7 separate regions of the Homo sapiens genome follow, and all the other regions are linked to region 1. The links are contacts of gene promoters, found by promoter capture Hi-C in blood cells and fetal thymus (Javierre and others, 2016). All regions are on one chromosome and are shown on one strand. Each heading gives the region's core, a stretch centred on a gene start or on the middle of the fragment in contact. The rest is flanking DNA. Distances are from core to core; before and after follow the strand shown. Region 1 holds the start of PRKACG (protein kinase cAMP-activated catalytic subunit gamma). Region 2 overlaps PGM5 (phosphoglucomutase 5). Region 3 overlaps TMEM252-DT (TMEM252 divergent transcript). Region 4 overlaps TMEM252-DT (TMEM252 divergent transcript). Region 5 overlaps TMEM252-DT (TMEM252 divergent transcript). Region 6 holds the start of LOC105376071 (a long non-coding RNA gene). Region 7 has its middle 51 kb from the start of PIP5K1B.

Region 1 (4,378 bases), core at 1,403-3,902:
TCATTTGGCCCCCTAGGCAAGCTCCAAGCAGATCATGCAGAGGTATTGTATCTTGCTACACAAATCTTTTCCTTCTGAAAGGGTTTATCTGAATGCAAAAGGATTCCTGTTTCCTTGGCATGCTAAGGACTCCCTTGCTCCCCAAGGCCATGGAGAAAAGCAGAACGGAAAGTGGAGAGAAATAACAAATGTAATTATTCTGCAGCTTGTTCTGGGATAAATACTTGATGTTCTGACCTGTAAACGAAGCATGGGGACATTTCTAGTGTGCAGCATATGTTCCCTCTAGACCCCTGTGTCTTCCTAATTGAACTTCAGAGATTAATGCCACAAGAATTTGTCATGGAATGGCACAGCCTGCTTCTAAACAAACTGTCCCACTTCCAAGGCGTCGGTCCAAGAGAATGGCTTCCCACTAATTGCTCTTTGTGTATAAATTTCTACTGAATAATCTGGAGGTAAGTCAGAAATGGGCAGAATTTTAGCAGATCTACTGTGATGAAAATGAAGAGGAAATCACTGAGATTATGGGGGAGACGTGGAATTTCCATCTGCCAGGGATTTGCCTTGACCCAAAGCACAAGGGGCAATTGACCCCCCTGCTATGTTCTTGAGGGAATGTGGGTTTCCCTTTTGTGGAAGTTCAGATGATCAACAGTAGATTTTTCTCCTTTCCTCTTCTTCCTCTCTAACCTGACCGTCTCTGAATATACAGTCAGTACCCAAGTACTGGCCCCAGATTAAACCGTAAACTCGGAACCAGGCCTTGCACACAATAGACACCTGCTTGACCAACATCTGCTGAACTGAGCGGCAAGAATTCACAGTCACAATAGAAACCTTCTACTTGGAGTCAAGTAATCAGGGATTCCTCTCCAATTTGCTTGGTTTCAGCCTGCAGGGCTAGGTGAAAGTGTGTTGTTTACTTGCACTAGCTACAGGCGGTGTAGCCAGGGTGGGTAGGCAGAATTAGCTGTCAAACTTAAAGGGCAAGATGGAGAGAAAATAGGAGGATAAATGGGTATTCCTGTAGCTCAGTGTTTATGATGTAGGACAGAATCTTTGTACAGAATTGACTGGGGAGAGCAGCTCAGAACCCACCCTGTGATGGCTGAGTGCTGGCAGTCTTCTGGAGGGTGTGTGGGGCGGCTGACATGGTGGCCTGGGGGAGTGATGGAAGGCCCATCATCTATGTACTTTGACTTCTCATAAACTCCTGTGGCATGTTTTTAATAATTGATAGAATAAGTAAACAGAAAGTCAATAAGAATATAGAAGACCTGAACACTACTACTAGCCAACTTGACCTAAGTGACATTTGTAGAACACTGTATCCTCAAACAGCAGAATACACCAGAATATACATTCTTCTCAAGTGCATATGGGCCATCTACCAAGATAGATCATATTCTGGGCCATAAAATGAGCCCCAAGAAGTGTAAAACATTTTAGGTCACACAGAGTATGTTTTCTAACAATGGAATTAAATCAGAAATCAATAGGAAAATTCTTGAAAAATCCCCAAGTATTTGGAAACGAAATAATATACTTTTAAATAGCTTATCTGTCAAAGAAGATGAAAAGGGAGCTTAGAAAATATTTTGAGCTGGATGAAAAGGAAAATACAACATACCAAAATTTGTGGGATGCTGCAAAAAATAATACTTAGGAGGAAATTTATAGCACTAAGTGATTGTAATAGAAGAAAGATTTCAAATCAGTGACCTTAGTTCCCACCTTAGGAAATAAGAGCAATTAAACCCAAAGCAAACAGAAGAAAGGAAATCATATGTATGTGTTAAAATAAAACATTACATGCAGTAAAACTGAATTTTGGGGGGAAGTATACAGTTCTTTGAGGTGTTTGTTTGTTTGTTTGTTTGTTTTTGAGATGGAGTTTCACTCTTATTGCCCAGGCTGGTGTGCAGTGGCACGATCTCTGCTCACTGCAACCTCTGCCTCCCAGGTTCAAGCAATTCTCCTGCCTCAGCCTCCCGAGTAGCTGGGATTACAGGCATGCGCCACCACGCCTGGCTAATTTTTTTGTATTTTTAGTAGAGACGGGGTTTCACTATGGTGGTCAGGCTGGTTTCGAACTCCTGACCTTGTGATCCGCCCGCCTCGGCCTCCCAAAGTGTTGGGATTACAGGCTTTAGCCACTGCGCCCGGCCAGTTCTATGAGTTTTAAAACAAATGTAGACCACCACCCAATACATTGTAACCACCAGCACAATCAGGATACAAACATGTCCCACCACTTCCCACATTCCCTCAGGCTGTCCCTTCATAGTCCAACCGTCCCCTAACCCCAAGCCCTGGCAATCACTGATCTGTTCTCTCACACTATAGTTTTGCCTTTTCTGGAATGTCATAGAAATGGATTCATACAGTAAGTCTCCTTTAGAGTTGGCTTCTCTCACTTGCATAATGCCTTTTGGATTTATCCATATTGTTGAGTGCAGCGGCGTGATCTTGGCTCACTGAAGCCTTGACCTCCCAGGCTCAAGAAATCCTCCCATCTCAGCCTCCCATGTAGCTGGGAATATAAGCGGAGGCCGGGCGGGGGTCGCAGCGCCGCAGCCAGCGCAGCCAGCCCCAGGGGGCGCCATCTCCGCCGCTGCCGCCGCCGCCGCCGCCGCCGCGAGACCCCCGCCCCTGCCGCCGCCACCGCCATGGGCAACGCCCCCGCCAAGAAGGACACCGAGCAGGAGGAGAGCGTGAACGAGTTCCTAGCCAAAGCCAGAGGAGATTTCCTCTACAGATGGGGAAACCCCGCTCAAAACACCGCCAGCTCGGATCAGTTCGAACGGCTCAGGACGCTGGGCATGGGCTCCTTCGGGCGGGTGATGCTGGTGAGGCACCAGGAGACCGGCGGCCACTACGCCATGAAGATCCTCAACAAGCAGAAGGTGGTGAAGATGAAGCAGGTCGAGCACATACTGAACGAGAAGCGCATCCTGCAGGCGATCGACTTTCCGTTCCTCGTCAAGCTCCAGTTCTCCTTTAAGGACAACTCCTACCTGTACCTGGTGATGGAGTACGTGCCGGGTGGGGAGATGTTCTCCCGCCTACAGCGCGTCGGAAGGTTTAGCGAGCCCCATGCCTGTTTCTATGCCGCCCAGGTCGTCCTGGCCGTCCAGTACCTACACTCGCTCGACCTCATCCACCGCGACCTGAAGCCCGAGAATCTCCTCATCGACCAGCAGGGCTACCTGCAGGTGACGGACTTCGGTTTCGCCAAGCGCGTGAAGGGCCGCACTTGGACCTTGTGCGGGACCCCAGAGTACCTGGCCCCCGAGATCATCCTGAGCAAAGGCTACAACAAGGCCGTGGACTGGTGGGCCCTAGGGGTGCTCATCTATGAGATGGCCGTGGGCTTCCCACCCTTCTACGCCGACCAGCCCATCCAGATCTACGAGAAGATCGTCTCTGGGAGGGTGCGGTTTCCCTCCAAACTCAGCTCTGACCTCAAGCATCTGCTGCGGAGCCTGCTGCAGGTGGACCTCACCAAGCGCTTCGGAAACCTCAGGAACGGGGTTGGCGACATCAAGAACCACAAGTGGTTCGCCACAACCAGCTGGATCGCCATCTATGAGAAGAAGGTGGAAGCTCCCTTCATCCCGAAGTACACAGGCCCTGGGGATGCCAGTAACTTTGACGACTACGAGGAGGAAGAGCTCCGGATCTCCATCAATGAGAAGTGTGCCAAGGAGTTTTCTGAGTTTTAGGGGTGTGCTTGTGCCCCTGTGGGTTTTCTTTCCTTTTTGTTTTTGGTGGTTTGGGGGATGGGAGGGTTGGATTGAACAGCCAGAGGGCCCCAGAGTTCCTTGTATCTAATTTCATCCTCACCCCACCCTCCAGGGTTGGGGGAGCAGGAAGCCCAGATATTTGGAGGAACAGAAACACCAGCTGCTCCCTCACCCCCCCCCATGCCTTCCTGGTCCCTCTGTGCTTCTCTCTTTCTCCTCCCACAGGGTCCCCCTTGCCCCAGCCCCCTTCTGCCTGTTTTAAACGAGTTTCTCAGCTCTATTCAGGCCAGGTCTTGCTGTTGTATCAAGGGACACGGTGTGGAAAGAGGGGCTCAAACTTAACTCCAGCCCTGAACAGGCACCACTTACTAAGAGAGGATGAATGAAAAGCACACCTACCCTTTGGCGTAATCCTGCCTGGGAAGGAGAGAGGTTTAGTGCCATGTTCAGTGGGCTGTTTGCTAGAATAAAAAATTAAAACAAAAAACAATTAAAATCTTATTTAAGTTCCACCAGTGTCCCCTTTCCTCCTTCCTCTACTTCCACCCCTCCCACCCTTCCCACCTTACCGTGTCTCCCCATTCCATTTTAACAAATCCAGGAAGCCGACTGACTTTGGAAGGAGGCTC
Region 2 (4,378 bases), core at 1,188-3,687, 490 kb after region 1:
GTTTTAATTCATTAGGCAAGGGGAGGCATTGAAGTGTTTTGGGCTGAAAGGTGACATCACAGCTGTGCTTTGGAAATATTGATCTGGCAGCAATTTATGGTTACATGTATTAAATTATCTTACTCTATGAAGATGGCTAGATGGACAAGCTCACATAGACTCCTGGAAGCTGGAAGAAAAATGAAAATCTAGAACACAAGAAAGTGGCACTTTCCTCCGGTTCCGTGTTGATCATCTTGATTCGTAAAAACAGAAGGGATTCTTTTCCTCTTAATAACCCTGTTGGTGCCCAGAAACATTTTACACTGGCACATTTTGCCAGGACATATCCCATGTGATGCCAAGATAGAGGGATCTCTATTCTTTAGGAGCAAAGTGCCCATTTTGTACAGAAATTCAATTATTAGTTTTTGCTCCTCTTCCTGTCTTCTCTTCCCTCTTTCCTGCTCCCCCTTTTTGGTTATGTAATTCTTCATTAACACCTATCAAAGAAGTTAAACTCAGACAGAAAAAGAGAGTGAAGTTAAACTCAATCACTTTAGCTGAGGTTTTAGAGGGTGAATAAAGATAAACATATACTATCCTATTATTTTAAGAAAATGCAATGAAAATGAATTTGAACCTTACGGAACTAAAGGATTAAAACATATTCAGTTTTACATCATTGTAAATTTCAAGATTTTTTGACTCCACATCTTTAAGTGGTGGTACCTATTGGCAAAAGGGCGGGGAAGCAAGTTTTAACAAATACTGTAAACACCAGAGAAGTTCTCTTTTCTGATCTCCACTTAACTCTACAAACTAACGCGTGCTTTCCACTTCTTCAGTAAAACATCCTGACTCACGTCCGTAGCTCACTAGATGTCCGTGACCAAAAGATCACTTTCTAATATGCTCACCTACTTCTCCCTTCAGCAGTTGAGTTCTGTGTTTATCAGGAGTCAGTTAAGTTTGTTCCCAATATGTTAATGCCTATTGTACTAATTATTGAGACTATGCAATTTAATTATATGTAAACCAATGAAACGTGAATGCAAATAAGAAGACTTTTTTTCTATGAAAATTAAGTTGAGTGTTTTGGAAAGAACAGATAATGGTGATTAGCTAATCCTGTCAAATTAGATGTGGGTGAGATACTACAAAATATTAGGGAGAAATTTTAAAATTATAGAAGAATTATTTTTTCAGGTTGCTTCACAATTGTCCTTAAGTTCCCGCTGTAATATAAAGGAATCAAAGACAGATATTATAGATGATGAATTATGAGTGGGAATCTTTTGAAGAAAGAGGATCACAATGGCAAACAGTATGCTCATATTAAAGAACAGGTCTTGGGCCAAAATCAAAATACTGGCAAATGCATGTACATTTATATGTTTTATGATACAAATGTAATAGGATATCTATGTGTATAGTGGACCTACTTAACTCTGTTTCTGGATTCATCAACCAAGCACTTGTCCCTTCTTCTGTTCATGTCAGAGAAGAGGGCTTCCGTGGTGCTTATGCAAGCTGAAGGGAAGAAAATGCCACATGAGGAAACTCCTAAATATGAGGACTCCCATCCTGAGCCAAGAGCCTGGGCTAATCCGGCACAGATGCCATGGAGTCATCTGCCTTCCGGGAAATATGAGTGTTTGGGAAGAAGACCACCTCACTGATGTTCAGTCTTTTCAGCCATTTTCCAGGAACCACAGAACTTCTTTAGATTTTGTATGACCCCAGGAAGGCCTGGGAAGAAGTCCCTAAAAATACCCAAGATTGAATTTTTTGCCAGCTTTCTGGAAAGGAAACTTCAAGTTAAGCTCCTTTTTTTTCTTTCTTTCTTTTTTTTTTTTGAGAAGGAGTCTCACTCTGTCGCCCAGGCTGGAGTGCAGTGGCGCGATCTTGGCTCACTGCAAGCTCCGCCTCCCGGGTTCACGCCATTCTCCTGTCTCAGCCTCCTGAGTAGCTGGGACTACAGGTGCCTGCCACCATGCTCGGATAATTTTTTGTATTTTTAGTAGAGATGAGGTTTCACAGTGTTAGCCAGGACGGTCTTGATCTCCTGACCTCGTGATTTGCCCGCCTCGGCCTCCCAAAGTGCTGGGATAATAGGCGTGAGCCACCACGCCCGGCAAGCTCCCATTTTTAAGGCTAATAAACTAATATATTTTTTCTTCCCTGAGTGTATAAATTAAACAGTCATGTATCACTTAATGATGGGGATACATTCTGAGAAATGCATCGTTAGGCAATTTCATCCTTGTGCAAACATTATAGAGTGTACTTACACAAACCTAGATGGTATATATCTTTTTATTTATATATTGTTTTTCATATGGGAAACCAAATGTCCCAGCACCATCACTAAATATCAATCATTTCCCCTAGTTGATTCGCAACATCAATATCAAGTGCCATGTAGCAGGTTTCTATACATGCTCCATTCCAATCCTATGGGGCCACCATGGAATATGTGGTCTGTTGTTGACAGAGATATCACTACGCCGTGCATGACAGTATATATGTGCTAGAATGAGTGGCCACATGATGAGGGCAGAAACTTTGTCTTATTCAGGGCTAAGGAAAGTATCTACTGCTTAGGAGATACTCAATACATCTTTGTGGAGTAAATGAATGATATATTTGATGAAAAGATGATAAGGCAAATAGAGACTCCTGTGGGCATTCCTGGAGGACATTGTGTGCATGTGGGAGGGTCAACAGTGCCGGGTTTTTACTCATGTTTTTCTTTAGAAATCACTCCTCTGATACACGTAAACCCCAAACTCTTCTCTCATGTCATCGACCATGCCTCATGGTGGGTGGGAGTTAATTTTCCTGGGGCAATTGGAGAGGCAGTTGGAATGAGGAGCAAAAAGAGGGGTTATGAACTGTGGATGTGAGTTTTCTAACATGGAGCTGGAAGCACAGAATTTCAAAAGCAGAGAGGAATGTGGATTGGTGTCATTTGATTTCTTCATGGCACAGATGAAGACACTAAAGCCCAGTGCGACACAGGATTGACCCACGGTCACACATCTGTTTGGTGGCTGAGCTGGGATAAGAACATACAGTGGGCTCCTCTACTGCATTTTCCATCATACAGTTCTGCATATAAGATCTGAGAGTGACAAGGATAAAGAGAGAAAGACAAAATGCACTGAATGGGGAGGAGCAGGGAAATCATGGGATTGCAACCCTATTGGACCAGATGAGTCCCACATCAGATGAGGAGTTGGGTAGGACTGACCAGTCTTCCTCCCTGACCAAAACCAGGCAGACAGTGGGAGAAGAGGTGTTCTCAGTTATGTGGGTTATGTGAATGTCCTGGAAACTCCAAAATAACCCTTTGTGAATAAAGGAAATAAATTAATGGAGACTTTAATCAATTATGTTAGAGTATAGCATTGTTTTTTCTAATTCCAGTGTTTTTTAGAGTGCCTAACATATTTCTTCTACAGTCAACAGTAGGAAGCAGTGAACGCTTATCTTGCTCCAAACCAAGCAGGCCTTGCATCCTTTCAAGATGGCATCTTCTGCCACCTTGCAGGGTTTTCTGGATGTTTGCTGTCCATTAATGTAGACAGGCTACAGGGGGTATTGGATCCTCTCTCTATTTAAAGTTTTGACACTATGTTTATCATGAATTTTTTGGACATTGATTTTGATTTTTTAAAAATTGCACTACGATATTTATCTTGATTACTGAGTATTTTGGCATCCACACCCACTTAAATTTTGCACCCAGTTAACCTCACATTAATCCTAGCCCACATAAATCCTAGATTAGGTTTTAACTTGTCCATACTCCCTGGAAAGACAGAGTTTCTCTTTTTACTTTCTCTCCCATCTTCTCTTTTGCTTTATGTCATTGTTATAATCCACTTTCATGTAAATTAGATCCATTAAAAAAAAAACAACCCTAACAAACTGAACTTCTTACTCTGGGACAAGCAATAGACAGGAAGGATGTAAATGATCTGAATGTCACAAGACTCAAAGTAAATAGTTAACTGATTTTTCGGAGGAAAACAATACCCTAACCAGAATCATAATCACTTATCAAGCAAGATTTGTCAGAATCTGTGGAGGGAACCTAGTGCTGGGCTGGTCTCTATGAGGAATGTGCATTTGTACAGTCGGGGAAGGATTGGAGCCATGGGTGGAGAGTGAATAGGTGTGGATGACGATAATTACCATAGTTCATCTTTCGGGGCAGGCAATACAAACCAGAAATGCAGGTAGGTCATCCAACAACAGAAAACACTGACATTCTGGCATCCATAAAATAGAGATTTATAACAAATGCTACTTTCTCCTGATCCCTAGGATCAACTAACAACACTCCCACTTTGTTTAAAACCTGCTAAACCTGAATGCCAGGCTTTCTCTC
Region 3 (4,378 bases), core at 912-3,411, 470 kb after region 1:
CAGCATGCCCATCCCCAGCGTACCCACCCTGAGTACCTGGGACTAAGGCACGCCACCATGCCTGGCTGATTTTTGTATTTTTTTGTAGAGATGGGGTTTTGCCATGTTGCCCAGGCTGGTCTCGATCTCTTGGACTCAAGTGATCTGCCTGCTTTGGCCTCCCACAATGCTAGGATTACAATACCCCATATTCTTACCATCCATAAGACTACTGAATGCATATTAGGATTTATTTGTAGATTTTGTTTTTGTATTGTTTTACACTAGAGTCTTTCCCACTGAGTGAAAATACCGCAATTTAAATTTACTTAGAATACTTTTTTTATGGCAAGCAATCAAACTGATAAGAAGTTAGGTTCATTTGTTACCTTTTTTAAAGAAAAATTTTAAGGATTACTTTGCTTTGATTTAATTTGGTTTTTAATTATGTAAAATATGCTTATAGTTCCAATTTTGTAACTATTTTAAAGACACATTCAGATAAATCTGTCTTCCAACTGTATCCTTCCTACCCTGTTCCCTCCCTCCTAAAGGTAACCATTATAAAAATTAATTTTCTTTGATAATCTCATTGTTTCTTTTTGAAAATATTGACATATATTCATACATATTTGTATCCCCTCTTTTTTATACTATAAACTTTGTTATTTGATTTGTTATCTTATCAGTATACCCTAGTAATATAGAGATGTTACTCATTCCTTTTTATAACTGAATAGCATTCTGACACGTGAATGTACCTTAGTTTATTCAACTGGGCCCTTATTCATGGCCATTTGAGTGTTTCCAGTCTTATATAATTACAAACAATGCTGCTGCAATAAGTAAATCTGCACATTTAAAATTTTGTATTTTTGCCAATGTATCTTTGGAATATATTTCCAGAAGTGTGATTTCTGGGTCAGAAAGAAAAATGCAAATGTAAGTTTGCTAGCTGTTGTATTCCCACCTGCAATATATGAGTATCTTTGCCCTGCAGCCTTGCCAACAGAGTGTGTTGTCAAACTGAGATTTTTGCTGATCTGATAGGCAAGAAATTGTATTTTAGTACTTTCCTTATTATAAGTGGGGTTGAACATATTTTAATTGTTTAAGGGCTATTTCCTATTTCTTTTAAAAACACTTATATGCTTATATATTTTGCTCATTTTTATATTATGTGAAATTACTTATTATTTGGAAATGACTGACAATGAGAGCATGGCATATAAAAATGTGTGTGATTTGGGTCAAAGTGACACAAATGGGTGGCACTAATTATATTTATTTGAAAACAAGATTGGAGATAAATTAAGCATACTGCAAAAAGGATGACAAAACAGTCATTAAAAGTAGACTAAAGAAATTGTTAAAGATTAAAGCAAAAACTGGTGAATCATAAAACTAATAGAATCGTTTAAAAAGGCCTGATTTACTGAAGACACTATCCCAAAATGACAAAAAATTCAAAGTAGACTAGAGGAATTATTGATGATAACTTCAGAAACTTATGAAATATAAATTTATAAACAAAATAAAATCTTTCTTTAAAAAAAGCCTGAATGATTATAAAACCAAATGCTGACTCTTAGATCAATACATGAACAAGTAGTTTTGAAAAATCTAATGAAATAGCTATGGTTAGTCTCATCAAAAAAACAAAAAGGAATAAAGACACAAATAGCAATGTTAAGAATTGGAAAGGTGACATACCTAGAAAATCAGATAAGACTTTAAAATTATAATTGAATACTGCATATAATATTATAACCATATATTATATTATAAGTGAACGTTATGTGTGTGTGTGTGTGTGAAGAGAATTTGTAGGCATGTAAGTGGAATGTTTTTTAGGAAATTGTAAATTATAAAAAATGACTTCAGGAGAAGAGATAACCTTAAAACCTTTAGGAGAATTTGAAAAACTAATTGAAGTTTACCATAAAGAAATGATGCCAAGGATATCCCCCCTTCTGCCCAGGAGTTAGAAAGCCTGAAAGAGTATTGCTCTCATCTAACAACCAGAAAATGCCTGACAACCTACAAAATCATAATATTTCTTGACTCCATCAGGGAGCTGAGGTTACAGGGCAAGTGAATAGCTTCAATCTAAGGAAAGACAGGAGCCTCCAATGGAAGCCGGGACACAAGCCCTGGCTCTCCTATGACAGGGCCCAGGTATAAGAGACACAAATGTCATACAAGATCGTAAGAATAATTCAGCTGAAGTTTTTAACTAATTGTTAGATGCCAAATGTGGGCTAATGTGGGAGTACAGAAACACTAGGAGCTGTAGACACGATGGGGGTTTGCACCCACTTCTGGGCTCTTCTCCAGTGGATCTCCACCCAGCTGCTGCAGGAAATTGTCAAGCCCCAGCTGGACTCTGTTGAGCTGCTAGAGTCGGGAGGTGGCAAACCCTCCTTCCCCCAGGGCACAGGCGAAACCCATGTGGCTGGAAAAAGTGAAAAGAAAAAGCCCTCTGTAAGGGAGGATCAGGGAACTATCCTGAGGTCAGATTGTTAGAGGAAACTAATGCTGGAGAAAGAGTAGGTTCACTGAGAAAGCCCCAGTCTCCAACACCAGGATCTTAAGGCCTGCATAAGACTAAGGTGGATCAAGACAACAGAGAAACCCCCTCCCCCTACCACCCAGCTAGCAAGCATCAGGTAATAAGCATAGTCTGCTGCTGAAAAAATAGGCAAGAGTATGAAGACCCACCCCACTCAGGTGCGAGTACTCAGTGAAGGTCTAAAATTGAGGATAGAGGAGGAACATTGAAAAAAACCCTTCAGCAAGCCATCCCTCACCCCAAGCACCAGTTAATACCAGAGGAATTTGAAGCCAGTAGTGCACTGAAGGGAACCATAATAACAACAAAACCCAAACTCAGCCCAAATCTTGACTAGATTTGCTCAACTCCCTACACCGAGAGGTGAGCAATGGCAGAGTTGTGCCCATGTTCAGGCATGGCATATCTACTGTTTATCTCAGTCTCTACTATCCTACACACAGTACCTAGCAGTCAATAAAAAATTACAAGGAAAAAAAAGTAAGAGAAAAAAAGGTCTTGGACCCAGTGGTTTTATGAGGGAGTTCTACTAAATCTTTGAGCAACACATATTTTGCTATCACTTAAGTTATTCAAGAGTATTAAAACTAGGAAGTGGAGAAAAGGGAAACAGAATATTACAGAGAATTTCATAAAGTGGGCACAGAAACTGCTTCCTATTTACAAGTCCCTGCCCATCATGCCAGGTGGTGTCAATGCAGGCAGTCAGATTCTGCCCTGGCTTGAGGCTTCTGCTCTGATCCAAAGTGGCCATGGAAGTGTGGTCTTTTCAGTTTTCCAAGGATCCCCAAAGAAATTAAATTTGTTCTGGCTTATTTGTGGATTAAATTGACCTCCCTCTAGAACAAAATTTATCTTTCTGTTTGGCCAATAGACAGGACCAAATTTCCTCACCACAACTTTATTTACAGAAACAGGCTGCTGCCCCATGAGCCATATTCTGCCAATTAGATTTTTTAAAACATTGCTGGAAAATATGATTTTTCTTGATTACTAAGTTCCACCCTCCCCACCCCCTATAACCCCCAACAAATTTTGCACTTTAGGCAACTGCCCCATAGTTCCACCTAGTCCTGGTCTCCACAGAGTCCCCTGGCCCAGAGACCCACTAGGTTCCACCCAGGGTGAGTGGGGCCTCACGTGCTGCTCTCACATCAGCTTACCTTACTGTGCCATGCACTTTGTGAGAAGCTGTTCTTTGCCAACCAAAAAAAAGCCTTCATATAAATCTTCTCCTGAGTGGGGGAAGAGGAGGGAGGGTGGACAGTTTCAAAAGCAAAGAAAACAAGAATGGAAAAGAGGAGGAAGTGGCCAGTGCTCAGTGAACCCTCAAGTGTGAAAGGCTAATCCAGAAATCACTCAGTAATCACCACCGTGAAATCAGGCAGGGCTGACATCTCTTGCTACGCCTATGCGCCCCTTCCCTGCCTCCCACAAAGCCTCACTTCCTAAACCAAAGTGACCTTCTGAAATCTGGCCAGTCTGCCTCAGCTCTTGGCCCCATGTCCCTCCTATGCAACAGCTTCTACACACCATTAGTTTCCTTCCAAAGTCCCCACTGACTTCTCATTCACAGCAATGCTCTTCCTGTTTTCGAAACAAGGGTATTGGCCCATGTGCCTGGTAAACAGAAACTAGAGTGCATAGGGCTGTGAGAAGTTCTAAGGCATTTGTGTATTGCACCGGAGACTGAAAGAAGGGTGAGGTTTTGGGGGCTCTGATGTGCAAGGTAAGGCACTCAGTGTTCAGAACAATCCTCATGGATCTGTCATGCTCAAAGGAACAGTGTTGAAAGAGTGATTATGGTTTAAGATAATTTGGCTGTCA
Region 4 (4,378 bases), core at 1,051-3,550, 450 kb after region 1:
AAAATACAAGAAGCAACACCTGCTTTTTCTTTGCTCTACTTGTTTATACTAGATTTGTTTTGAAACTTCAATATAATCTCTACATGTGAAGAAAAAATTACCAGCAGTCCCCCAGCGATGAAAAGGCTGTGTACTAAGCATTCCGTTTTAAATTGATTGTCACTTGGAACACTCTTTCCCATAGAAACAATGTTATAAATAGAGTTAAGTTCCCAGAGGGACCCACAAATTCTTCTTAAAGTGTAACATAGCTAAAATAGTCCTTGACAGAGCAGGAAACTGAACCCTAGATCACCACCTGGGCCTCTCAGAATCCCAGACTCCACTGGCTCAAGGTGACCCTGGGTGAGACTCGACCCCAGGATTTGTGAAAACCTTGACAAAGAGAAGCTGGCTGAGTAGGATCTGAATTGAGCACAGTGTGTTTGGTGGGACCCCACTGGCAGTGATGACTGCACTTCCCAGCAATCCCTAAATTGGACTCTAATGGGATCATCTTGTTGAGCCTCAGATCTGTCCCACAGCCCTGTGGGTGGAGTGGGGCTTGTCCTTAAGGGAAGGGAAGCTCTTATTCCCAGCCATCCTAGGAAGAGGTCAATCCAAAGGCAAGAAATGAACTGTGGTGGGCCTTAGCCTAGGGTGAGGGGACAACATGGTCCTTTTTCCTGGAGTTAGGGTCTGAGGCGTGGGGAGGCCTGGAGTGGGTGGTTGGGCAGAACTGACTCTGGTTACAGGGAAGATGCCAGGACCATGTCATGAGCCAGCTCAGGAACCCACCCTAAAATGGATGTGGGCCTATGTCAAGGAGGAAAGTTATTTTTTGGTGCTATCTCTCTAGTTTCTACCTCCACGTGCAATGGCAGAGCTTGGCTCTTCTGAGGTGTGGGGAATTATGGGAGGTGAGGTTGGGTGGAAGAGATGTCAGCAGCACTGTGAAAGAGGGGATCTGAGGATGGAAGATGGTGAGCTTCAGAAGGGAAGAGCAGCAGTGTTAGCCCAGCTGAGGAGGCAAAGGACAGCAAGGGCACACCTGCAGAAGCAGAAAAACATCAGCACCTCACACAGCACTTACGATGTACCAGAGACTTTTCCAGGCATTTTATAAGCATATTCAAACCTGTTAACCACCCTATGACACATTATTAGTACCCCCTTTTACAGATGGGGAAAATGAGGCATGGAGAAGTTAAATAACCTGCTCAATATCAGACAGCCAGTAAGTGACGGAGCCAGTAATTAAGCATTGGCAACTTGCCTCCCGAGGCTGGGGTCTTAACCAAATAATTTATTCTCTTCCATACACAATCATTCACCAGGGACAGCCCCAGAAATATTAATACATGGAAAGGCATTGAATAATACACAAATGAAGTTAGTGAATTAGGGCTTTTTAACACAGCAAGTTCTATGTGTATAAAGTATATGAGGCAAACAATAAAACCCCTTGTCAAATCTGAAAATTTCTAAATAACTTACTTTATGTTTAGGAGTACTGTTGTCTTACAGGCACTTCTGGCTGGAATATACATCTTTATATATCTAATGTTTCCATGTATCTATCTTTTTAAAAACACACTCAAGGGTCTACATGCATGTCTAACTGGTAAGGATTTTCTTTTTTAATAATCATCATCTGGCTGGAATTTTTAACTAAACCCATGTCAGTTGAGTGATATTATGTTTTTGTGAAAGCATTGTCGAGAGGATGTCTAGAATAGTTCATTATTAATGTTCCTCTGACAACATGCCACAAAGGATTTTAGAGAAAGACTTTTGATGCTCATTCTCTTAAAACCATTTTCTTTACCTACTATTCATATAAACACCCATCAAAAGCCTCATATTATTTCATTAACTGCAATCTTGTTACTCAATCTTTCAGTAACCAGTAATATAAGTCATGAGGCGACTTGCCTACTTGTTAGAACCAATTTTTTTTTTTTTTTGAGACGGAGTCTCGCTCTGTTGCCCAGGCTAGAGTGCAGTGGCGTGATCTCGGCTCACTGCAAGCTCCGCCCCCCGGGTTCAAGCGATTCGCCTGTCTCGGCCTCTCAAGTAGCTGGGACTACAGGTGCCTGCTACCACGCCCGGCTAATTATTGTATTTTTAGTAGAGATGGGGTTTTACCATATTGGCCAGAACTCCTGGTCTCGAACTCCTGACCTTGTCATCTGCCTGCCTCAGCCTCCCAAAGTGCTGGGATTACAGGTGTGAGCCATGGTGCCTGGCCAGAACCAAACTGAAATGTAATATCCCAGGTCGTAAGTTCAGACTTTACTTCCTCCTGTCGTTTCTGCACCCAGAGGTGATGGTCTGAAGAAGAAAGTCCTTTGGAAAAGTGAAAGTTAGCATAAGCATAGAACTTACTTCCACATCAACTGATTGGGTGGTCTATGTATGATAACGATGACAATGCCTGGCACCTGGTAAGCAATTATTTATTACGATTATTAAATCATCAAATGGCTATTATTATTATTCCTTTTGGGGTCAGTGCTCTCTACTTCGTGGCTGTAGAGATTTTTGTTTGTTTCGTTTACTGCAGAATTGCGAGTGCCTCTTAGAGTAGTACCTGTCACATAATAGGGACTGAATAAATATTTGTTGAATATTAGTTAACATAGCTTTACACCAACCTAATCTACTTATGCATGGGGCAATTTGTGGACAGCAGGGCTATCCTTACCTCATTTCCTTTCTTTGATCCCATTTAAGTTCAGGTCTGCCCAAGTCCTGACCTCTGACTATATCCAGTTTTCATCTGTGCTACTTCCTTTTGGACTTTCAAATTAATCCTGATTTCCTTGGTTTGACCATGGTACCCTATAACAAGTGACACTCTGTTCTTTTCCTGCCTGGTTACTTAAGGGAGGAAATCCTGCCCTACCTCTCACCTTGAGAACAAACTCTACCTCCAGCCTCACTGATTTTTTTCAAATATTTATCAACTACGTAGCAGGCAATCTGCTAGGCTCTGGGGACACAATGAAGAAGAAGAAAGGCAGGTTCCCTAGCCTTTGTGGGATTGGGCTGTAATTTGTTTTCTTAATATATTAATACCCAGAGGTGGGAAGGAACAAAGCCAGGTTCATCCAATGAACAGGTTGCAGAGCCATGAAGAGAGAGAATACGGCCACACTGATTAGGCACCCAGCCTGGCTTCCTGACAAATAGCCTCACCGAAGCAAGTGACCCCCTTACCACTACCCTCTCTCCTCTCTCTCTCCTCGCTTGTGTTCCAGCTGCACCCCTTTCCCATTCTGAATTGTCCAGGTTATGTGTCATGGACCATGATAGAATGACTCATCTTTTCAGAGGGCACCCATCTGCATCAGATTCCACATCTTGGGTTGCTATGTCTTGAGTTGCTAAAATAAGAATCAGAATGTTTCTTATTCTTTGCTCTCTGTGAGTCAAGCCTTGGCCACCAGAAAAGCCCTGGTTGCCCTAAAGAACTTGGAGTCAGCCGGTCACAGTGGCTCACACCTGTAATCCCAGCACTTTGGGAGGCCGAGGCAGGTGGATTACCGGAGGCCAAGAGTTCAAGACCAGCCTGGCCAACATGGTGAAACCCCGTCTCTACTAAAAATACAAAAAACATTAGCCAGGCATGGTGGCACATGCCTGTAATCCCAGCTACTCAGGAGGCTGAGGCATGAGAATTGCTTGAACCCAGGAGGCGGCAGTTGCAGTGAGCCAAGATTGCGCCACTGCACTCCAGCCTGGGTGACAGAGTGAGACTCTGTTTCAAAAAAAAAAGGAGAACTTGGAGTCAGTAGGGCAAAATTGTCCTTCTTTGACCTAGAAGGCTATTGTGTTTATGTTCCTCAGGATGCAAAGGGAAGATGAAAAAAGGAGCTAATGATCATTCTACATTTACTTGTGTCTACGGGCACCTTATGAAAATTACTTTTAGACAGATGCTATGTCTTTCCCCTAAACTAGTGGTTCTACAACATTACAGAATGCCCTGGAAGGCTTGCTAACATACAGATGGCTGGGACCAACTCCCAGACCATTTTTTTGGGTTTTTTTTTTTTTTTTTTTTTTTTTTTTTTTTTTTAGATGGAGTCTTGGTCTCTCGCCCAGGCTGGAGTGCAGTGGTGCAATCTAGGCTCACTGCAACCTCTGCCTTCCGGGTTCAAGCGATTCTTGTGCCTCAGCCTCCCAAGTAGCTGGGACTACAGGTGCATGCCACCATGCCCAGCTAATTTTTTGCATTTTTAGTAGAGATGGGGTTTTGCCATGTTGGCCAGGCTGGTCTTGAACTCCCGACCTCAGGTGGTGTGCCCGCTTCGGCCTCCCAACGTGCTGGGATTACAGGCATGAGCCCACTGTGCCTGGCCCAACTCGCAGTTTGTGATTCAGTGGCTCTAGA
Region 5 (4,378 bases), core at 974-3,473, 400 kb after region 1:
TGTGTCAGAGGAAGCATGGGACAGATTTGAAAGCAGTTGCCTGCATTTAGGGTTTGAGACCACTGTTTTCTGTTATAAACCACATAGTGCTGTTTGACTCTTTAAAATATGGACATGTACTCACTGTGAGATGAAGGTTAGTTACTATTTAAAAATTAATAAGTACATACCTAAATCCATAAATATTTATATATTTACACAAAGCCCTGGGCTCCAGACCTAGGTCAGCCAGTGGCAATTTCTGTGTCCTGAGTAAGTCCTTTCATCTCTCTGGGTCTCAGTTTCCCAATTCGCAAGCAGAAGGTTTGAACTCTCTGGCTATTGTACCACCATCACTATTATCAAGTGATGATATTAGATATCACTAATTCACTATCATCAAAACACAAACTTGTAAAATATCTTGAAAGTTTACAAACACATTCTTTTTATTTGCTTTTTTTTTTTTTTTTTTCAGACGGAGAGTATCGCTCTGTCACCCAGGCTGGAGTGCAGTGGCACAATCTTGGCTCCCTGCAACCTCCGCCTTCCAGGTTCCAGCAATTCCCCTGCCTCAGCCTCCCAAGTAGCTGGAATTACAGGCATGTGCCACCATGCCTGGCTAATTTTTGTATTTTTAGTAGAGACAGGGTTTCACCATGCTGGCCAGGCTGGTCTAGAACTCCTGACCTCAGGCGATCTGCCCGCCTCGGCCTCCCAAAGTGCTGGAATTGCAGGCATGAGGCACTGCTCCTGGCCCCAAACACATTCTTTTTCTTAGATAAAATACTAAAACAAACCAAAACATTTTAGATTACAAAAATGGAAGTACAAAGGCTTGGACATATTTATTGGCCTTTTTTTTTTCAATGAAGTGGTTTCAGTAGCCAGGCAAGCTTTGTATGAGCTACACTTTTCACTCTAAACAATGTGGATAAATATGACCTTGAGTGTTCTCATTTTCACATGCCCCATTTTTTCTCTCAGGACAGTTTTAATAGTGATTAAACCAGAATTTAGTGTCCAGATGAGCACACGGGGAATAATCTTTTCACTGAAGAGCCCCGTATGTCCATTGCGCACCTTAGAGGTCTTGTGTGGAACTAATGAAGCACTTTGATGGCTCAGGGATTTTCATTAGAGGGAATTCATCTCCACCTCACCTCAAGCTTCATGAGCCATTTCTCTAGCTGTGCTAAACTCCCAAACAAGTAGCAGCAGAGAGCATTTCCAAAAAAAGAGAGATATCAAAGTGGCAGCTACTCCAAAGACAGAGCCTCCCCTCCAGTTTCTGCCTCCTGCAGCTTCTCCTACCTTCTTCTCTGTTCTTTTCATGCACACCACCCACACAGTCCGTTGCAGATGGATACGTGGTTCCAGTGATTTAACCTTACTTTCTCCACTCAGGCCCCTCAGGCGTGATTTGTTCTTCGGAGTCAGAGCTCGCTTCCCCAGCACCAGTGGTGTGGCTGTGAGCAGGTTTTGTTAGCTGGGTATAATTTTTAAAGTACCATTTATTTATCTGGCAAGAGCAAGCCCCAGTGATCCACCTCCATTAAAAGTTCAATCCAGAAGAGTGAATCTGACAGCTCCAGATTTCCGGCCTCAGAGCTCTTGATTAATTTTTGTGCCCAGAGTCTGAGGCGAAAGCAAGGGCGGGATTTCCTGGGTGGCTGTTGGAGGTGCATTTGGAGGCCATTACTGCCCTTCCAGCTTCTTCACTCAATTATGCTGAGCTGAGGTTCGTCACACTTTGCATAAGCGAACTCGATGAATACTTAAAAAGCCTTATTCTCATTTTACACGTGAAGAAACTGAGGCACAGGGTGGTGAAGTGGCTTGCCGAAGTTTGCACAACTAGCAATTGGTGACGTCCGATTGGAGCTGAGGTCTGTGTTGCTCTAAAGCTCGAGTCTTTTCCACTTGGGTTGCGTCTCTCATCTCCTTGAGGGCACTGCCTGCTCTGTGTCGCCAGGACTGGGCTGGAGGTGGCCACTGGGGTTTCATGCAGAGGGTCAGAGATTTGCTGAGTGAATGTGGACTGTCCCTGCTTTGGCTGCAGAAATATCTTTCCTCATTCTTGATCGCCCTCAACTTTTTGAATCCCGGGTACAGGCTGAGAAGTGTCTACAGGTGACATGCAGAGTACACCAGGACAGAATTCCAGTCCAACTTGGTCACAAAATGCATGTGCTTTTATGCCAAGTTATTGGACATGTGTCTAGAGGCATAGAGTGACTTCGCTGCTCTTTAATTGTCTTTTTTGCTGTGCCTTCTGTTTTCATTCCTCCAGCTCTGTCTTCCTGCTTGTGGTGGAACCGAAAGTCTCAGTGTAACCCTGTTCCCTAGACAGGTCTGATATCTTCTTGGCCTTGACACTGAGAACTGGTTTAGAATCTGGTTTGTACTGTCCAACCTTCCAGTTTGGGAAGATAAGTCACAGGACATCGTCTTCTAAGCAGCAAGAGTAGCCCCTGGGATAAAATTGCTGACATCTCCGTGGGGCCTCAGGGTCCTGGGACTCATGCGAGTGCAGGAGGCTCCATGTCTTTGGAGGCTGCATCAGACACATTCTAGCCTCAACTGAATGAAACCTCTGAGTTTGATTTTACATAACTGCTCTTAATACTTACTTTAAAAGAAAAAAAAAAAAAGACCTGGCAAGGACTATAAATGTTTTATTTTAAAGTAACCTTTCTTGGATATATTTTTGGTGGGGGGAGGGCACAAATAGACTTCAAATATATTACATATTCATTGCAGAACATTTAGGAAAAAAAGAAAAGCAGAAACAAGAAAAATAAATATTTTCTATAATCCCAACAACATGAATAATATTTTAAAATATGCATAGGCTTTTATTCTTTATAGACCTATCTATATTCACTTTTCTTTATACAAATGGAAATATGTTGCATTTACTGTTGTGTTACCTGACGGTAGTCTAGTTAACAGCCAATTCTCTCCATTCTGGTTTGTGAGCCAACCCTGATTTTGTTGAGACATAGGACAGCCATGTGCTGTAGGGAAAGCTGGAACCTTCTCCAGCCTGAGGGAATGAAACTTAATTGGTCTAGGTCATTCTTAATCATTCCTTTCACCTTGTCAGTGATGGACTTGGGAGTAAGCATGTGACATTATTTTGGCCAAAGAGACATCAGGGAAGTCCTTAGGGAATGTCTGGGAAAAGTTTCTTTGCTCTTTAAAAAAAAATGACTTGTAGGAAGAAACTTCCGTTTTCAAGTCTGGGTATTGTCTGAATGTATCTGAAACAATGGCAGCCAATTTGCAAACATGGGGGATGGGGGAGCAAGCTTGATGAACAAGATCAGCTGATGAACAAGATCAGAACCAGGACTGCTATTCCTTTGTTAAACTTCTGAATTAACCGATGTTGCAACCATTCCCAAACTGGACATCTTGACAGATGGTAAAATAAATAGCTATATTGTTTATGCTGTTTAAATTTTTCTGTTACTTATAGCCAAAAGCAACTTATCTAACAGAATTTCTCTTGTCATTAGATATTCTTTTTTTTTCATAATAGAAAATATTTTATTTTGAAAGTTTTAGTCATTGGGTCTACAACAGTTTTCCATACAAGGAAAATACAGTATTAAGTTATTTGTAATTGTCTTACATACTGAACAACCAATGAATGCATACAAGTAACAAATTATATGTGTGCAGAGACTAGCATCAAGGAAATACTCATTCATAGATACATGTTTTCTAATAAAATATATTTTAAGTTTTTGATGATCTTCTGCTATCATTTTTGCTATGTTATCTGAATAGCCATCCAGATCTGTAGTAAAAGATCTCGTTAGCTACATAACTAAAGAAGTACTTCCCCAAGGAAGCTGACACCATCATACCAGGACTTACAACATTTAGCTTTTTTTTTTTTTGAGACAGGGTCTCACTCTGTTGCTAGGCTGGAGTGCAGTGGTGCGATCTTGGCTCACTGCAACCTCTGCCTCCCTGGTTCAAGCGAGTCTTCTGCCTCAGCCTCCCGAGTAGCTGGGATTACAAGCACGCGTCACCATGCCCAGCTAATTTTTGTATTTTTAGTAGAGACAGAGTTTCACCATGTTGGCCAGGATGGTCTCCATCTCTTGACCTCGTGATCCCTCCGCCTCAGCCTCCCAAAGTGCTGAGATTACAGGCGTGAGCCACTGCACCCAGCCAACATTTATCTTTCAACATGACTATACCATTAAAATTTTTAAAATATTTCTCAGAATTGTGTTCTTCAGTCTTTTCCATAATATAGTATATGGAAATTGCTAATAGCATTAAATTAATATGAATAAAACCCAATTCTATCTAAACCTTTTTCTCATAAGAAAAAACATTACTTTAAAAAACAGACTTTTTGTTTCTTCTAAAAGTAGTA
Region 6 (4,378 bases), core at 1,205-3,704, 380 kb after region 1:
TTTCAGATCTCACTGAAGGTGAAACCAGGAAAGTACTTCACTCAGAGGTGAGTGTATAGGTAATAAATATGTGGAACAAGACTCTATTGTCCTCAGGTAAAGGTGGGTGACCCTAGGTGCCCTTAGGTAAGCCATTAAAAACTGTTCTACCAAATACTCACATACTGGGCAGGTGTTTGAGCAGGTGTGGCAGCCTTGGGGCAGATGCCGAATGTGGCACACAAGAGGTTAGTGGATATAGTTACACCTTCATAAAACAAATGCTATCTCCCCTGCCGGGTCTTAGCTACAGAGGCGAAAAATGAATATTTTAATTAGTTTCAGCTTCCAAAAGAGTCGTAGGCCAGACTTCCGAATCTGCCTCCTATAGGGAAAACACTTTCAAATTCTACCACTTGGCAAAAAATCCCTCCCAAATAAAACCCCAAAACAAAAATTACATTTCTAACTAAACAAGTAACTGTGCTTCTTAGACAGACAGCTTCATTACGCATTCAGCAGCTTGGATTGACACAATCTTGGGCAAAAGGGGAAGAGGCAAGAGGTGAAGCTGAGCTGTGTTTGGAAGTACAGCTCATAAGGATGGCAGAGAGATTGGAAGGGGTGGGGAAAAATCAAAGCTGATTCCTATTTTTTTCTCCCTGAGCAACTTGTTAGATTATTTAGGTCAATGATGCTTTTAGGAATTAAAATTTTGCATTTTAATATCAGTTTCACTTTTTCAAAGAGCTTTCGTCTCTCCACCCCTGTTGACATAAATGATCACACTGAGTTTTATCTAGGTTAGTTTTAGAAGAGACTAAGTTCAGGGATTTCTGAGATAAAGAGAGGAATTTTATTTTATTTCTTTGCCTCAGGTAGCATTCAATATATAAATATTTCTCTTCATTAAATCCTAATCAAGTTTAACTAAACTTTCAAGACAGATGGGGAGATGTTATTTTAATTATAAAAGGTATCCACACAAACTTCTTTAAAGCAGTGGAGTTTTTTTGGTATTCATTTATGTATTCAACAGATATCTTTGAGCTCTGACAATGTCCAAACACTGTACTGAGTGCTCCACGCACAGTGCTGCAGTGAGCAGCCTCTGGAGATGTGTGTGAAACATGCAGATATGGTTCTGAATCATGATAGATAGAAGGAGCGGGAATAATGGTAGGTGGAGAAAAGCCCCTTTGTTTTGGGTGGTCAGTCAAAGCTTCTATGAGGGAAGAATATTTATGCCAAGACTTGGCAGATACCAGGGACCCAGTTGGGTAAAGAATGAAGCAAAGAGAAGAGAGGAGAGCAGGAATGCATTTCTGGAATAAGGAACAGCATTTGCAAAATTCTGGAGGTGTAAAAAGTTTGGCAAGTTTGAGAAACAAGCAGTGGGGCTGGAGCGTAGGGAATCGGGGGAGAGGCTGAAGAGCTGAAGATGAGGTGGAAGTGGGGCTACATTGACATGACCTACTGAGAGACAATCACTTGACAGAGGATGAAGGAAGTCACAGCTATCTGATTAGGGACCCACTGTTCATGTAAGAACTATCAGAAATGAAATGATCATTTTCCCTGTGAAATTATAAACTCAGTCAGTGGAGAATTGATTCAATTTTCATAAAGTCATTTCAAATTTCATATAGATTAATTTCATATAGTCATGCAATATCTGCATGTTTCACACACATCTCCAGAGGCTGCTCACTGCAGCACTGTGCGTGGAGCACTCAGTACAGTGTTTGGACATTGAATAAAATGTGGCACACTTATTTCTGTGCAAGTTAAGAACTTGTTGGGTGGCTTGCTAGCAAAATTTTTCTCCCTTAACTCTAGGGAATAATATCTGGGCCACAGTTTCCAAACTGGTGTTCCACAAGCTGACTTTGGTCCACAGGCATAGCTTCTTTGGCCCGGACAGTATTTTTACAAAATCTAAATAAGTTGCAGGCCAGGCGCAGTGGCTCGTGCCTGTAATCCCAGCACTTTGGTAGGCCAAGGCAGGCAGATCACTTGAGGCCAGGAGTTCAAGACCAGCCTGGCCAACATGGTGAAAACCCCATCTCTACTAAAAAAAATACAAAAATTAGCCGGGTGTGGTGGCACATGCCTGTAATCCCAGCTACTCAGGAGGCTGAGACAGGAGAATCATTTGAACCCCGGAGGCAGAGGTTGCAGTGAACTGAGATCACGCCACTGCACTCCAGCCTGGGTGACACAGTGAGACTCTGTCTCAATAAATAAATAAGTTGCAGCAGCTGAAACTGCTATGTGTTCAGCAAACCTATTTCCTTCTACAGTTGGTGCACAGCTGCACTACGTTTCCCTGCGTCCCCAGCAAGTAGGAGGAACCATATGACGAGTTCTGCCAATGGATATGAACAGAAGTGCTGGTCACTGTTTCCAGGCCTTGATGGTAAAAATCCTCCTCCCAGCCCTCCACGTTCTCTATCTGTCCCCATCTGCAACTGAATGCAGAGAAGGAAGGTGTCATAGAAGATGCAGAGCCACATGATGAAAGGAGCCTGGCTCCCTGGATGGTGGAACAGTCTCCACAATGACCCTCATTGGACTGTGATGTGAGTGAGATTGAAACATCATTGTGTTCGCCACTGGAATTTGAGTTTGTATGCTGCAACAGTGTCTTTGTTTGGGTTCCTCCCAGGATCAGGTTCTGAGATATGGATTGGTGTCCAAGTAGTTTATTGGGAGGTGATCCCAGGAAACATCAGTATACAGGCAAGTGGGAGAGTGAGAAGGAAAAGGGATGGATTCCAATGAATGGCACATTATCTACCAGTTTGTACTGTGGCAGCTGGAGCTCAGTCACACAAGGAAACTCTGGGAGGCAATACAGGACATATCTCAGAGCTATCCTAACTGAAAGGTAAGACTATCTATCATATTTATATACTTTCCTCTCATTGTTTGAGAGCTGCTTCCAAGGGCATTAATGTTTTAGCATTCCTACATGTGCTGAATGCAGGTCAAGTGTGTGCACAGTGTCTTCAGGCAGAGTTGAAGGCAGTCACACTAGGCAGCCTCACCTGCAGAGGGGAGTGCTGAGTGGATATGAGTGGAGCACCAACAGCATCTGCTAAGAATGTTTAGCACACACTGTGGCCAAGACTTAAAATTAGGTGACTTAACATAAAATTGGAGTTTCTGACTTCCTCCAAAAAATAAGAAGATAGTCAACATTGAGCCTACATTTCTGTATGGCAATAACTGGCTGGAGCTGACTAGTGATTGACACTTTACATGGGGGTAGGGTCTCTAATCTCCATGGTCCCCATAACCCCCACCAATCCTCTCTGTCACCCAGGCTGGAGTGCAAAGCCATGATCTTGGCTCACTGCAACTTCTGGCTCCTAGGTTCAAGTGATCCTCCCACCTCAGCCTCCTGAGTACTGGGATTATAGGCGCCACCACACCTGGCTAGTATTTGTATTTTTAGTAGAGATGGAGCTTCATCCTTTTGGCCAGGCTGGTCTTGAACTCCTGATCTCAAGTGATCCGGCCGCCTTGGCCTCCCAAAGTGCTGGGATTACAGGCATGAGCCACCGTGCCCGGCCTACTGGCCCACCTTATGATTCTTTCTGTAGGCATTTGAATCTGTAACCCCAGGCCTTCTACTAGAACAAACCTTGTGTTTTGTTCATTTCCTCCCATCTTTCTCAATCCAGTTGCATTTTCTTCCCTCTGTACCCCACTTCAAAAGCTTCTCAAAATGTACTTTCTTGATGAGGACTTCCCTGACCACTTCACCATACTTCTATGGCCATCTATAGCTGTGCCATCCCATATGGTAGCCACTGGCCACATTTGGCTATTTTAATTTTAATTTCAGTTAATTAAAGTTAACTAAGCTAATAAAGATAATTAAAATTTAAAAATGAGTTCCTCCATCATACTAGCTACATTTCATGTGCTCCATAGCCATAGGTGGGTAATATATTGGATATGTCACATCTTGGACAGCACAGATACAATACATTTGCATGATGACAGAAAGTTCTGTTGGACAGTGCTGACCTGTATCATAATTCTTCTTGTAGGTGCTTTATTGTTTTCCGTAAGTATTTACCTCTTAAGGTGAAATCATCTTTAAAAAATGAGAGCCAGTGTGTTCCACTTGTCTCATATTCCTGCTCACAGTCAAGTACCTAAGCGATTGCTTGTAGTATTATTGCTGATGTTTCTCAAGTTGCTGAATGAGGTGCGGTTACCAGCGTCCCCTGTAGTCCCATTCAGGGAGACATTGCTCGCTCTCCTGTCCTCTTCAGGCTTATTTGGAAGTCTGAAGACGCTGCCTAGGGAGAAAAGAGACAGGGATTTCAACATCATACTCTTTTAGGATTGGAAGGAAACTCATTAAGGCCACTTATTGTTTCCT
Region 7 (4,378 bases), core at 596-3,095, 360 kb after region 1:
TGTTCACTTTGTATAAATGCTCAAATTTATTTGTATAAAGTCCATATGATTTTATTATTTTGATATCTGCTTTATCTTAGTTTATCTTCCCTGTTTCATCTATTTGTACTGTCTTTTTAATTCTTAAAAATTTTCCCCCAAATGTATCCGTTTTACTAAACAAAATATTTGATTTGGTTGACTTTCTCTATTGTGTTTAACAGGAAGAAAAACTTATTTTCCACTCCTATGATTTATGTGTGAATTGATTTCCCTAAATAATCCAGATTTCTTTCCCCATTTCTTACTCTCTGCATGAAGGTTAACTTGAGTGTCTGTTGTCAGGTGACAGCCATTGGTCCTCACTTCTTGGTTGGGTTGATGTAAACCATCAAAAATTCTAAGCATGGAGAATTAGATTTCTTTTCACCCTCCAGTCCAGTGCAAGATAACAATCCTGGGTGTGTGTGTCTGCATCTCTCTGGTATGTAGTTCCAAGTTCTACAAACTAGAGGGTGGGCAGGGTATTAGTATTAGTAGATCTGTTTGGCTCTTACTCTTAGTCACACCCTCTAACATAATTTATCATTAATAAAAGTGATAATTTGGTCTTCAGATCTGCGACTCTGTTGATGTTACAGTGGATTCAGAATTTAAGAGACAACAAGGAAGTTATTTATTTGGCTCTCTTACACTCCAACAAATTTCTGATTTTAATTTTACTAATTTGTGCTGTTTTGTATTATGTAGTCCCTTTTTTTTCTTTCTTTAGATTACTTGATGTTCCTTTCAGCTGCTTTTACTTATATTACTGTTCCAATGAGTTTTAAATTTTATTAATTATTTAATTTTAAATAATTATAACTTCCATTATAATTTCTTCTTTGACTCCTGAATTAATTACAGATCTGTGTTTGAAAGATTTTTTAAAATTTTATTTCTTAACAATAGCATATTATGAGGATGTGCTTTCTGATGACCATAAAAACCCCTACAATTCTAAAAGGATAAAGTTCTTTACAAGACATGAGCATTTAAGGAAAGATGAAGAAAACAACTGAAATATCTGGCTGTTAACATATCAACCTAGAATAACTTAAAGAAGCAATATCACTATTTTTCTAAGTCTGAATTTCCCCCTTTAAGTCTTACAACTTGTGCCCTATGTATATGATTACTTTAATATTCTTTAAATGGTATTTTCCTATCATGATATTCCTAATGTAATATTTTTACATTATTTTTAATCATTCTAATGTCTTAAACAAGACAACAAATTATGCTCGAGATATTTTAAGAATTCCTTGTGTGTACACATGTGCATTTCAACATAACCAGCATACATCAATATACCTATTTTTTTTTTTTTTAAACTGTGGGGCTGGGCATGGTGGCTCACAACGGTAATCTTAGTACTTTGGGAGGCTAGGGTGGGTGGATCACCTGAGGTCAGGAATTTGAGACCAGCCTGGCCAACATGGTGAAACCCTGTCTCTACTAAAAATACAAAAATTACCCAGGAGTCCCAGCTACTCAAGAGGTTGAGGCAGGAGAATCGCTTGAATCTGGGAGATGGAGATTGCAGTGAGCCAAGATTGCGCCACTGTACTCCATCCTGGGAGAGAGAGCAAGACTCTGTCTTTAAATAAATAAATAACATTTTAAAAAAATAAAATAAACTATGGTAGGAACGGCCTTTATTGGCTGCAGCAGGAAGTGCCAGAGGGGATACAGTGTCTGCAGACTAGATTGCTGCCCTCCAAAAAAAGGACGTATCTGCAGTTAATAATAATACCTTAATATTGTTAAATATCTTGTGTTTACATCTGATTGTATTGTATGTTTTTAACACTTTGAATTAGGAACCAAATACAATCTATTCATTGCAATTAGTTCATAGTTCTTCTAAATTTCTTTCGATCTATAAATTCCTCTTCCACATTTTTTTCCTTAAAACTTTTTGTTGAAGAATCTGATTCATTCTTTTAAATTCCCCACAATCTGGATTTTGCTGGTTGTATCCCTGTGATATTAACTCTTTTCCCTTGCCTTTTTATTTCCTGTAAGCCAATAGTTAATCTAGAGCCTTCAGTTTATATTTCATTTTGTTTTGTGTTTTGCAAGACTCCTCCACAGCTGGTGATGTGTGTTGATATAAGGAAGTATATAATGTCTGATTGTCTCTCTTTTTGTCACATTAGCAGCTATGGATGACCATTGTCTAGGTCCATTATTTCCTAAGGCATGTAAAATGATGACATTCTATCATTCCTTCTTCAGCTATTAGCTAAACACTTGTATAAGTTATTTCGCAAATATTTTTGTTTACTCTGAGTTGCAGTTCATACAGTAATGTTAGGATAAATTATGCATTATTTTTCTTTTTTTATACCAGATCTCAAAACAATATAGTTGCTCTATATGTCTATCATCGTACCCTGGCATCCTCCACTGTGATCACACAGGCTCTGTGCAGTATCAGTATGAAGTCATGGGTTTTACGCATTTGATCTATTTTAACCCATGTCAGTTATTATTCTTATTTGTGTTCAAATTGTCCCATCTTTGGCCAACGGGAGTTTTTCAGGATGGCTTCCACGTCATTTTGATATGACTTCATCGTCTTTGATAGTTCCTTGCTGCTCATATGACAAAATATCCCAGATTCATTTTAGATATTTTCTGAACAGATCTGGAATTAGCCTTGTATATCTTATTTCAGTGCAAAGTGATATTTTGCATTTAAAAAAGTGGCACTTATTGAGATAAAGTGTAGTTATTGTTTCTCAGTATTTTCAGTGACAGAGTTTCTCTGGTTTCTTTATCTTTGCCTTTGGTATTCTGCACTTATACTATGATGTGTCTAAGTGTCCTGCTTTGAATACTGCATCTTCCTACTCTCTATTCTGTCCTTCTGAAAGTCCTATTAAATGTATGTTAGACCTTTTCATTCTTTAAACACTGTTTTTTATCCTCATTTTAATATTTTTAATCTCTTTATTTCTCAGTGCTACATTCTAAGTAGTGTCTAGGATCTATATTCCAGTTGGTTCATGTTTTTTTCAGTTGCATTTTACTTGTACTTACCATTTTCCCAGGTTTTTAATTTTATAGATTACATTTAAATTTTTAGAAGTCCTTTTAGTTAATTTCCAATTCAGCCTGTTCAGTTTTCATAGTTGTTCTTTTCACATATTTTCATTTTTTCCTTTAAGTCTTACTCATTTTGAAAGTTTATTTATGGTCTCTAACAGATAGTTTGACCATTGGAAACCCCGGTGATCTCATCCTGCTGTGTCTCTCCAGCGACCTACCTGTCAGGACGGGGTATGACCCACCAGAACCACTTTGATTTTTATTTCTCAGCTTGGGACTTCTTAAGTCATATGAACTGTGTAAACTTAACACCCAAACCTATGTGAGGACATTCCTGTGGTCACAAATTCTTAGAGGAGATATTTCCCCCACACCAATACCTAGATTGAAACCAAGAAGTTTCCATATTGTTGCCCTGTGCGGATGGAAAAATTTACACCCTTTCCAGTGTCTTGGTTGCGTGCGGTGATTTCATTTTCAACTCTTTGTTTTGCAGGGGTTTCAGGTTGTTGAAACACAAGACTGTAAATGACTGAGACCCTCCCCCACCAAGTTTCCATGAGGTCAACTGATTTACTTATAACTCTAGTTGTCAATTCCCTCTTCATTTTTGGCCATTGAAATTTTCCTTGCTTATTTTTATTTACTTCTTTGCAAGCACTATCCATCTAAAAGGATGTTTTTGTATCTGAAATTTCTATGTGCTCTGTACCAAAAGGGTTTTTAGGCCATGTAATTTGGCGTATCACCAGATGCAGAAATCCAGTCTATGTTTTCATCTTTTCCAAAAACTTAATCTAAACTCATTGTAGTCTATATGGGCTAGTCAAAACACTAAGCTTTTCATGAGAAAAATATTGGTTTAGCAAGTGGCTCAGACATTCTGATTGACAGTTGATAGCATCAAAAACATGCTGATTCCTGTGGGGAAAATAATTAAAGGGATTCTTCAGAGTGAAAATGTTGGTTAATTACATTCCACAATCAGATGGACCCTCTCAAAACATTTATATGATTAATGGCACATCGATAGCCCACTTTAGCAGACACAGCTCCCAAATTGATCTCTTTGTAACTACCTTTGTTTTTAGTACAGTGATTCTGATTTTGTTATCACAGCAGGCCAGTTTCAATGATCAGAACCACAATGTTCTACCACTAATATAATATAGTGGCAGCTTATCCCCAATTTTTAGAAAACTTTTAGCTAATGAATAACAATTTTCTCAGTTATAAAAAAATGTCCCCATAATGTTGTCTTAATATTTGTGTACCCACAATTGCTTGTGGTCTGTTTAAAAAT

The links. The method cuts DNA at HindIII sites, captures the fragments that hold promoters and counts their contacts. A CHiCAGO score of 5 or more calls a contact.
Region 2: a contact is called between a fragment that was not itself captured here and the fragment with the promoter of PRKACG in region 1, in 2 of 17 cell types (monocytes and M2 macrophages). The highest score is 5.1, in monocytes.
Region 3: a fragment that was not itself captured here is called in contact with the fragment with the promoter of PRKACG in region 1 in 11 of 17 cell types (total B cells, monocytes, naive B cells and 8 more); the score reaches 10.3 in total B cells.
Region 4: a fragment that was not itself captured here is called in contact with the fragment with the promoter of PRKACG in region 1 in 16 of 17 cell types (naive CD4 T cells, total B cells, erythroblasts and 13 more); the score reaches 20.4 in naive CD4 T cells.
Region 5: a fragment that was not itself captured here is called in contact with the fragment with the promoter of PRKACG in region 1 in 13 of 17 cell types (M0 macrophages, monocytes, M1 macrophages and 10 more); the score reaches 12.5 in M0 macrophages.
Region 6: a contact is called between a fragment that was not itself captured here and the fragment with the promoter of PRKACG in region 1, in 11 of 17 cell types (M1 macrophages, M2 macrophages, M0 macrophages and 8 more). The highest score is 13.3, in M1 macrophages.
Region 7: a fragment that was not itself captured here is called in contact with the fragment with the promoter of PRKACG in region 1 in 13 of 17 cell types (M1 macrophages, megakaryocytes, neutrophils and 10 more); the score reaches 12.1 in M1 macrophages.

Annotation. Positions count from the first base shown.
Region 1 is chr9:69,012,387-69,016,764 of GRCh38, reverse strand. It overlaps PRKACG (protein kinase cAMP-activated catalytic subunit gamma), which reads left to right and starts at 2,652. Exons shown (of 1, transcript NM_002732.4): 1 at 2,652-4,261. The coding sequence starts at 2,673. The coding sequence ends at 3,728. The HindIII fragment of the contact is 8,295 bases long and covers 1-4,378 here.
Region 2 is chr9:68,523,516-68,527,893 of GRCh38, reverse strand. All of the region lies in intron 10 of PGM5 (phosphoglucomutase 5), which reads right to left. Among named protein-coding and RNA genes, the nearest start is that of TMEM252, 15 kb to the left of the region's middle. The HindIII fragment of the contact is 9,592 bases long and covers 1-4,378 here.
Region 3 is chr9:68,546,461-68,550,838 of GRCh38, reverse strand. All of the region lies in intron 2 of TMEM252-DT (TMEM252 divergent transcript), which reads right to left. It overlaps LINC01506 (long intergenic non-protein coding RNA 1506), which reads left to right and starts at 4,237. Exons shown (of 4, transcript NR_109769.1): 1 at 4,237-4,280. The HindIII fragment of the contact is 9,054 bases long and covers 1-4,378 here.
Region 4 is chr9:68,563,595-68,567,972 of GRCh38, reverse strand. All of the region lies in intron 2 of TMEM252-DT (TMEM252 divergent transcript), which reads right to left. Among named protein-coding and RNA genes, the nearest start is that of LINC01506, 19 kb to the right of the region's middle. The HindIII fragment of the contact is 4,987 bases long and covers 1-4,378 here.
Region 5 is chr9:68,612,237-68,616,614 of GRCh38, reverse strand. All of the region lies in intron 2 of TMEM252-DT (TMEM252 divergent transcript), which reads right to left. It also overlaps the pseudogene LOC347097. Among named protein-coding and RNA genes, the nearest start is that of LINC01506, 68 kb to the right of the region's middle. The HindIII fragment of the contact is 2,145 bases long and covers 1,151-3,295 here.
Region 6 is chr9:68,632,952-68,637,329 of GRCh38, reverse strand. TMEM252-DT (TMEM252 divergent transcript) reads right to left here. Exons shown (of 5, transcript NR_187592.1): 4 at 4,070-4,291. It overlaps LOC105376071 (a long non-coding RNA gene), which reads left to right and starts at 2,327. Exons shown (of 3, transcript XR_929902.3): 1 at 2,327-2,561; 2 at 2,648-2,869. The HindIII fragment of the contact is 2,502 bases long and covers 1,204-3,705 here.
Region 7 is chr9:68,652,395-68,656,772 of GRCh38, reverse strand. No RefSeq gene overlaps it. Among named protein-coding and RNA genes, the nearest start is that of PIP5K1B, 51 kb to the left of the region's middle. RefSeq lists a silencer at 3,319-3,418. The HindIII fragment of the contact is 4,143 bases long and covers 1-3,916 here.